3 separate regions of the Homo sapiens genome follow, and regions 1 and 3 are each linked to region 2. Evidence: promoter capture Hi-C in 16 types of primary human blood cells and fetal thymus (Javierre and others, 2016). All regions are on one chromosome and are shown on one strand. Each heading gives the region's core, a stretch centred on a gene start or on the middle of the fragment in contact. The rest is flanking DNA. Distances are from core to core; before and after follow the strand shown. Region 1 overlaps E2F3 (E2F transcription factor 3). Region 2 holds the start of MBOAT1 (membrane bound glycerophospholipid O-acyltransferase 1). Region 3 overlaps E2F3 (E2F transcription factor 3).

Region 1 (2,700 bases), core at 26-2,525, 260 kb before region 2:
TGAAGTCAGAGGAGTTGAATGGGCTGTCCAAATAAGAACAGAAGCAGAGATTTTGAAAAGTCCTGGTTCGGAGGTGCTTGTGAGTAGTGAGGGGCTTTGAGTACAGAATGATGAGGAAGGGGGACAGCTTATGGTCCCTTTCATGCCAAGCTAAATGCACTCCTAGTGTCAACCTGTCATTGACGAGGTTACCTAAGATGAAGGGCTCCAAAGTCTTCTCCAGCTTTTTACAGTGAGAGGTAAGTGCAGAATCTAATGAGAGTAGCATCCTCTGTGAGCCGCTGGGTGAGAAGCCTAATCACAAACCAGACTATCTCAGAGAAGAATAACTGGTGAACTGAACAGGTGTGCAGAAAACTCCAACCGTATCCCCATCCTTTCTCACTTGGATTACTAGAATGGACTCCAAAGTTGGTCATTTTTCTTCTTTTGATTTCTAAACTAGGATATTTTAATTTCACTATAACCTGTATTTGTGGACTAGTTTGGGGATCTAACCACATATATATGAATGTTTCTAAAGGAAAAGCAATCTCACTGACTTAGAACTTTTGGAATAAAAGCCATTTAACCTATGAACTGGTGACTGCGGTCCCTCCTATAGAAACTTATTTTGTTTTTAAGAATAATTTAAGACAATTAAAAAACAAATAGATGCACATGGTTTTTCAAAACCCACTAGCTCAGAGAGCCTATAATGGCTACCTTGCTGGGGGAACCACCTTTACTATTTCTCCTGGTGGTCACCTCTGTATCTCTAAGTGATATGCTCACACAGCTATTTCTGGTTTAGCCATTTTAGTTCTAATGTACTGACATCCTTCAATGATACGATACCCATCTCACTTCTTCCATTTCCCCCCAATAGTTACATAATTAGTTTTGGTTAAATAAAAAACCAGTGCTATACATCATGACTGTATAAACAGTATTCACTGCAGTATCAAATAATATACTGAGACTATATATCCTTTCTTGTAAAGCTTGTTTGTTTTCTTTGGAGTTTCCAATTGTCTTTCTAGCTCGTTGGCACCATTTGCCCTCACCAAATCCTCAAATTTTTTCCAACTCTCCATCATATCAGATATTCTACCAAATCTCCACTTTTCCTCCTGCCTGAAGCTCTCTGGCCTCCTGATATCCAGACCTGAGACTAGCTAGGGGTTCTCCAGGTCTGCTGCATGGCTGTCATTCTGCAGTTTTCCTTCACTGCATACACTGTGCTGATGCCCGAGGTGAACATCTGTCACTTGATTTGAGTGCCCAGCACCTGAACTTTCTCTCCTATGTTTAGAAAACCCCTCACTTTATCAGTCTTGGTGTAAGGTAGGCCCACTTACTATAGAAGATGAAGTATCTTTTTGTGTGCTGATGATTTGAATGAAGGCCGGCTGCCCTTAGGTGGCTTCAGGATGGACAATGGTCACTGGAAAAACCAAGGCAGGATCAGAGGGTCAGAACTTTCAGACCCATCTCTAAACCTCCAAGGAGAGGAGAGGGGCTGAAGGTTAAGTTGATCCCCAATGGCCAGTGATTTAATCAATCATGCCAACATAATGAAGCTTCCCAAAAAACCCAAGAGGACAGGGTACGGAGAGCTTCCAGGTAGCTGAACACAAGGAGGTTCCTGGAGGGTGACGCATGCAAGGAGGTCATGGAAGCTGCGTGCTCCTTCTCACATGCCTTGCCCTATGCACCTCTTCATCTGCATCCTCTGTGATATCGTTTATAATAAACCAGTAAACCTCAATGTTTCCTGAGTTCTGTGAGCTGCTCTAGCAAATTAACTGAATCTGAGGAATGGGCCGCGGGAACCCCGATTTACAGCAGGTTGGCCAGAGGCACAGGTAAAACAACCTGGGGCTTGCAACTGGCATCAGAAGTTGGGGGTGGTCTTGTGAGACTGAACCCTCAATCTGTGTGATGTGACACTTCTCTGGGTAGATGGTGTCAGAATTGAATTGGAGGACGCCCAGCTAGTGTCCGCTGCAGAATGAATTGCTTGCTTGATGCCTGGGGAAACCCCCCACACATCTGGTGTCACAACTGTAATATGCGAAAATAGTGGGAGAAACCGAGTTTGTTCATTCCTCAGCATTTTCAGAATTGGTGTCAGAATCGGGACTGCTAGAACATCCCTAGCTCATGTTTGGGAAGAAAACAGATAAAGGGGTTGGGGGGTGAGAAACCTTTGATTCCTGGGTGCCCATGTGGTCACCCATGGTATGGAGTGGCAGCTCCATACCCATGGTATGGAGTGGCATCAGTCACTAAAGGTAAAAGTTACCAATGGAATTTAGAGGTGGATCAATCTAACTCCCTGGAAGGTGGTTTGCTGAATGCATGAAGAAATGCGAACTAATAAGAAAAAAACAAAATATGCAACCCTTTGGTTATTGTTATCTGTAATAGCTAGAATGAAAGTAAAAAGAAAGTGCTGGGCCAAACCTCGATGCCAGACCAAGTTCAGATTTCAGTCAATCTATGCTTCAGCCAGTAGACTCACAGAACCTCGCTCCCACAAGGGAAAAATTATGCAGCGACATCAGAAAGCACCCCTAAGGACTTTGGGCACCAAGAAGGCAGTGTCAGGAAAGGGCAAAATCAAGAAGCCATTGAAAGCAGAGGGTATAGTGTGAAGGAATTGTTTCATTTTTTAGATTGGTATCATCAGCTTCCTGAGGAGGCTTTACTAAAATG
Region 2 (2,700 bases), core at 122-2,621:
CTGCTCTCATATACCTCACTTCAGCTGTCATCTAGCTCCAGATAAGATGAATGTTGCTCCAATGCTGGTCATTTTCCAGGACTCTATGATATTAAATGAACCTATCTAGCCTAGTGATCCTCAAGTATATGCCTGTGTGCGTGTGTGCATGTGTCTGTCTGTCTGTAGTGTGGGTTTGCTTGTGAGTGGTAGAGATTATCATCTGGTGGTGACATCTCCATTCGGTTAGCTTGTGGGAGTGGTGGTACAGACTTTTTTTTTTCCTCCTCCACAGGGGACATAGGTTGAGAAACTCTGGCCTGGCAATTTAATGCTCAGTGCAGTTTGATGGTGATAAAACTCCTGAAGAAGGCAAGAGTGAGGCCTGAGTCTTGGAGAGTAAGTTGTTGCCAGTGCCTGACAGGCCTTCGGTTTAATTTGAAGCTGGAGGCCACATTGATAAAGTCGGCCCCGAAAGTCATTGCCTGTCTGATCGAATGCCGGTTTACCCAGCGGAGGCTGGGGGCCACGTGAGCTCACTTTCTTTGGTTTTCTACCCAGCAGCCCAGAATATTACCTTCCTGAAACCCTTTTTCATCAGCTAGCGATTCCTGAAAAGGATCTTCAAGATTTTTATGTTTCTCAGAACCTAGCAATAACTTGGAAAAGTTTTCCAAGTAACATTGATGTGTGGGTGTTCGGGGGCAGACAAGTTAAGGAGCAAGGCACCCTTTTTGAGGACCCGTGGCATGCAAATGACTTATCAGAATGCACATAGTATGACAGTAAACACCGTTTCTTACAGAGGTGAAATAACTCTCACTCCACAGAGACGGAAGTGACCCGAAGCTAGCAGTCCCCTGTATTTGCTTGTGTGACACCGAACATGTCAGATCAGGGTGTAGGAAACTATGCCTAGCGCAGAGGAGGGTAAAGGAAGTAGGGAGTCTGGTGGCTGCGGCGCTCCAGCTTCCAGCCACCGGCAGAGGAACCCTCTACGGCTTGAAAGGGAAACGCAGCCACTCAGCCGCTTCGACTGCGGCGGCGAAACCAAAACAGGGTGGGGCGGGGTGGGTGGTGCTCTCTAGTGGAAGGCGCCCGCTGGGTGAGGTCGTTTTGTCTGGCGGGGGGCTAGGACGGTCAGCCCGGGAGGAGGAAAGGCGCGTCCCGCCTCCAGCTGCAGGGCCAGGCGGCGGCGCCCGCTGGCGTCGCTTTCCCTCTCCCGGTCGGCCTCGGTGCAGGCCAGGCTGGGCGGGCCGGGCGGCGCTTGGGGGCCGGGCTCGGAGTCCCCACTTTTCCTCCCTCCTTCCCTCCTCTCGGGGCCGTCCCGAGCGGCCGGGCCAATGGGCGCGGAGAGGAAGGGAGCGGGAAGCGGGGCGCCTTGGGCCCGGCCCTCCTACGGCGCCCGTGGCTGCAGCGCCAGCGCCAAAGCCAAGTTTGCGCCTCGAGAGTTTGCGCCTCGAGAGTTTGCGCCGGTTCGCATTCCCCGGCCTCCCGTTCGCTCCCCCGCGAACCAGGCGGCCGTGCGCCTCTCGGGGCAACCACCCAAGAGCACCCGGGCGGGAGGACGCCGAGCAGGGGGTGTTGCGGGCTGGGACAGGGGCAGCCACCTCCCGAAGATGCAGGATGGCAGCAGAGCCGCAGCCGTCCAGCCTTTCCTACCGCACCACGGGCTCCACCTACCTGCACCCGCTCAGCGAGCTCCTGGGCATCCCGCTGGACCAGGTAACTGCAGGCCGGGAGCGCAGCGACCCCAGCTCCCCAGCGATCGCGTGCACGGGGCGGGCGAAAGTGTTAGCCACCGTCCCTCCGCCTCCATGGCGTATTTTACAGCCACACACTAGACAGTTGGTTTTTGTGTGTGTGTGTGTGTGTGTGTGTGTGTGTGTGTTTTCCCTTCTTGAGTTGGTGTTAGTGTTTTTCTCCTTGTAAGTGTGAAAAAATATTGGTACAGCCTGCGCGGCAAGTTCTACTGAACTTTTTTTTCTTTAAGTTTGGGATTGCCTCGTTTCCTGTAATCAAGTTCTGAAGTAGTCTGATACATGAAACCAGTGTTTCTTTCATCAGTGTCCTCAAGTCGTTATTGTTTTTAATTTAGATGACCCTACTTAAAAAACAAGCGCGATGAATCTGTAGACGGTAGTCTATAGATTTTGAATGCAGGACCTGGGTTTTAGACTTCTGAGGCGAGGCTTGTTCAGGGGTGACAGTTATTTTGTACCGTGTGTGATGCGGGACACACAAGGACACTTTGGTTTTCCCAGGGTTCGGTTGGCTCATATGCCTGGGGCTGGAGCTTCTGAGTAGGACAGGTTAGGGGGAGGAGAGGGGCCCCAGTGAAGTTATTTGAACTGTCCAGGAATTATCTACAACCATTAAAATTAAAAATGGCAACAACAGTGATTCCTGGCAAGAAACCTTCCTGAAGATGAAGCCCGTCTTACTCATTTCCTTGTCTCTTCAGGTGCTGCAGGCTAGATCTGCGGGATACTTAGTAGTGACCCAATCAGTAAATGTTGATTTAAATAGAATTGGGCAGGGCATGCTGGGGGAGGACCCACTGCGCTCCTGTTTTGTTTCATGCTTTTTTGCCTGGTTTTCTTCCCCTTCCTCTCACCAGTGCTCCTTTTCCTTTCCTTTTAACAAGAGCACACCTGCTGCCCTTTGCGCACACCCCTTCAGCAATGAGAAAGTGAGACCTGGACATTTGCCTTATTCGGG
Region 3 (2,700 bases), core at 105-2,604, 280 kb before region 2:
TGATTCAATTTATAGGAAACATAGAGAACAGGTGAATCCATAGGGGCAAAAAAGCAGAAAACAGGGACTGCAAGGTGTCGGGGATAGGGAGTAACTAATTTATGGACACAGGTTTCCTTTTGGAGTGATGAAAATGTCTTCTGGAACTAGACAGAAGTGATGGTTATACAGCACTGTGAATGTTATCAAATGTTACTAATGATAAATTTTGTTACGAGAATTATACCACATCAAATATATAGTACCTGACATACAAGCATTCTAAAAACTTTACATTTTTTTAATAGCAAAATGAGCAAAACTATCTCTCAAACAGGAAATCACCTAAGTATATTATTAAATACATTTTTAGGCCAGGCGTGATGGCTCACCCCTGTAATCCCAGCACTTTCGGAGGCCGAGGAGGGTGAATCACTTGAGGTCAGGAGCTCAAGACCAACTTGGCCAAGATAGTGAAACCCCGTCTCTACTAAAAATACAAAAATTAGCTGGGCATGGTGGCAGGCACCTGTAATCCCAGCTACTTGGGAGGCTGAGGCATGAGAATTGCCTGAACCTGGGAGGCAGAGGCTGCAGTGAGCCAAGATCACTCCACTCCACTCCAGCCTGGGCAGCAGAGTGAGACTCATCTCAAAAAAAAAAAAAAATTTTTTTTTTAAATCACTGGAATGGTATGCAGCCTTTGAAGAGCATGAACACGATCTACAAGTACTCACATGGAAAAATGTGACATAGCAATAAAAAGCTTCAGATCAGCATATATGGTATGACTTATGTTAAGTCATGTTAAAACACACATGCTTACTGTAATCCCAGTACTTTTGGGGGCTGATGGGGGAGGATTGCTTAAGGACAGGAGTTTGAGGCCAGCCTGGGCAACATTACAAGACCCCATCTCCACAAAAATAATAAAAAAAAAAATAGCCAGGCTTGGTGGTGCACGCCTACTATTCCCACCTACTCAGGAGACTGAGGCGGGAAGGACCACCAGAGCCCAGGAGTCTGAGGCTGCAGTGAGCCATGATGGTGCCACTGTACTCAAGCCTGGGCAACAGAGTGAGATCCTGTCTCTAAACAAAAACAAAAACAAAAAACAAAAAACAAAACAAAATAGGTCGGGCTTGGTGGCTCACCCCTATAATCCCACCACTTTGGGAGGCCAAGGCGGGTGGATCACCTGAGGTCCAGAGTTCGAGACCAGCCTGGCCAACATGGTGAAACTCCGTCTCTACTAAAAATACAAAATTAGCTGGGCGTGGTGGTGCATGCCTGTAATCCCAGCTACTCGGGAGGCTGAGGCAAGAGAATCACTTGAACCCAGGAGGCGGAGGTTGCAGTGAGCTGAGATTGCACCACTGCACTGCAGCCTGGGCGACAGAGCAAGGCTCTGTCTCATACAAATAAATAAATACAAACAAAATAAAATAAAATACACATGTTCATGCACAGATATGTGCCTAGAAAATGACTGGAAGGATAATACAAGAAAAATGCGAACAGTGGTTATCTCTGGCATGAATAGCATAGAGGGGCAGGTAACGTCCCCCCCTGCCCTTTTTTTTTAAACTTCATACCCTTTTATATTGATTTTGTGTGTGTACAATATATAGCACTTTGAGGTTTTTCAATGATAAGTTCAGAGTTAACAGTGTGACATGGCAGTCAAAAAATTCAAATCTGCTCCTAGATGGCATTACTAGAAATACACAATCTAGAACATGGGAGGTAATTACCAGATTTCAGAATTAAAATGTATTGGCTTTATAACCCTTACGAGGAGTCAAATTTGTCACTTTCTCAGTGTAACAATTACTCAGTGTCCGAGTGGTTTCTGCACATGGTCAAAGGGACAAGGTAAGTTCTACTTCACAGGGTGCAGAGCACACCGGAAGTGGTCACCAAATATTTGCTGAGTGTTCTGAGTCCCAAATACCGTCTAAGGCAAACGATGTTTTAAGCTTTTGTTTAGCCTTTCTCCTTAACTTGTTTAAGAATGTTTTAAAAAATTCAATTAATAGGCTGGGCGCGGTGGCTCATGCCTGTAATCCCAGCACTTTGGGAGGCCGAGGCAGGCGGATCACTTGAGGTCAGGAGTTCGAGACCAGCCTGGCCAACATGGTGAAACTCCGTCTCTACTCAAAATACAAAAATTAGCCAGTCGTGGTGGCGGGTGTCTGTAGTCCCAGCTACTCAGGAGGCTGAGGCAGGTGAATCACTTGATCCCGGGAGGTGGAGGTTGCAGTGAACCAAGATTGTGCCACTGCACTCCAGCCTGGGTGAGAGTGATTGACTCTGCCTCAAAAAACAAAACAAAAAAAAAAAAAAGAAAAAGAAAATGAAAAAAATTCAATTAATAGAGGAGCACAAGATAATATTAAAGAAAACCCATCCACAAGCCTGAACTCTTAAAAAAAATCATTTTATTGATCCTTTACCATACAAAATTTATTCAAATTACACCCATTTGAAGTGGTAAGATCACAGCTAGAGAACAGGTCACCCTGTAACAAATCTATTTACAAAATCCATCATAAAAGCTTTTTTTTGTTTTTTTTTACATTATATTACATATTTTCTTTTTTAAACTAGCATACAACACAAAGCTAAACTGATTAGTAGTTTGCCTACTCCCAATTTTGGGAGAAATACTTCCTTTTTACAAAATCACGTACCCCGTAGGAAAAGAAATTCCCACACCCT

What was found. The method cuts DNA at HindIII sites, captures the fragments that hold promoters and counts their contacts. A CHiCAGO score of 5 or more calls a contact.
Region 1: a fragment that was not itself captured here is called in contact with the fragment with the promoter of MBOAT1 in region 2 in 3 of 17 cell types (neutrophils, erythroblasts and non-activated CD4 T cells); the score reaches 7.2 in neutrophils.
Region 3: a contact is called between a fragment that was not itself captured here and the fragment with the promoter of MBOAT1 in region 2, in 1 of 17 cell types (M0 macrophages). The highest score is 5.2, in M0 macrophages.

What each region holds. Positions count from the first base shown.
Region 1 is chr6:20,467,427-20,470,126 of GRCh38, reverse strand. The region is part of intron 1 of E2F3 (E2F transcription factor 3); the gene reads right to left. Among named protein-coding and RNA genes, the nearest start is that of E2F3-IT1, 31 kb to the right of the region's middle. RefSeq lists an enhancer at 2,564-2,700. The HindIII fragment of the contact is 579 bases long and covers 986-1,564 here.
Region 2 is chr6:20,211,140-20,213,839 of GRCh38, reverse strand. MBOAT1 (membrane bound glycerophospholipid O-acyltransferase 1) reads left to right here and starts at 1,371. Exons shown (of 13, transcript NM_001080480.3): 1 at 1,371-1,704. The coding sequence starts at 1,606. RefSeq lists an enhancer at 343-843 and a silencer at 1,026-1,565. The HindIII fragment of the contact is 5,898 bases long and covers 1-2,700 here.
Region 3 is chr6:20,493,415-20,496,114 of GRCh38, reverse strand. It overlaps E2F3 (E2F transcription factor 3), which reads right to left. Exons shown (of 7, transcript NM_001949.5): 7 at 2,401-2,700. Among named protein-coding and RNA genes, the nearest start is that of CDKAL1, 40 kb to the left of the region's middle. The HindIII fragment of the contact is 1,213 bases long and covers 748-1,960 here.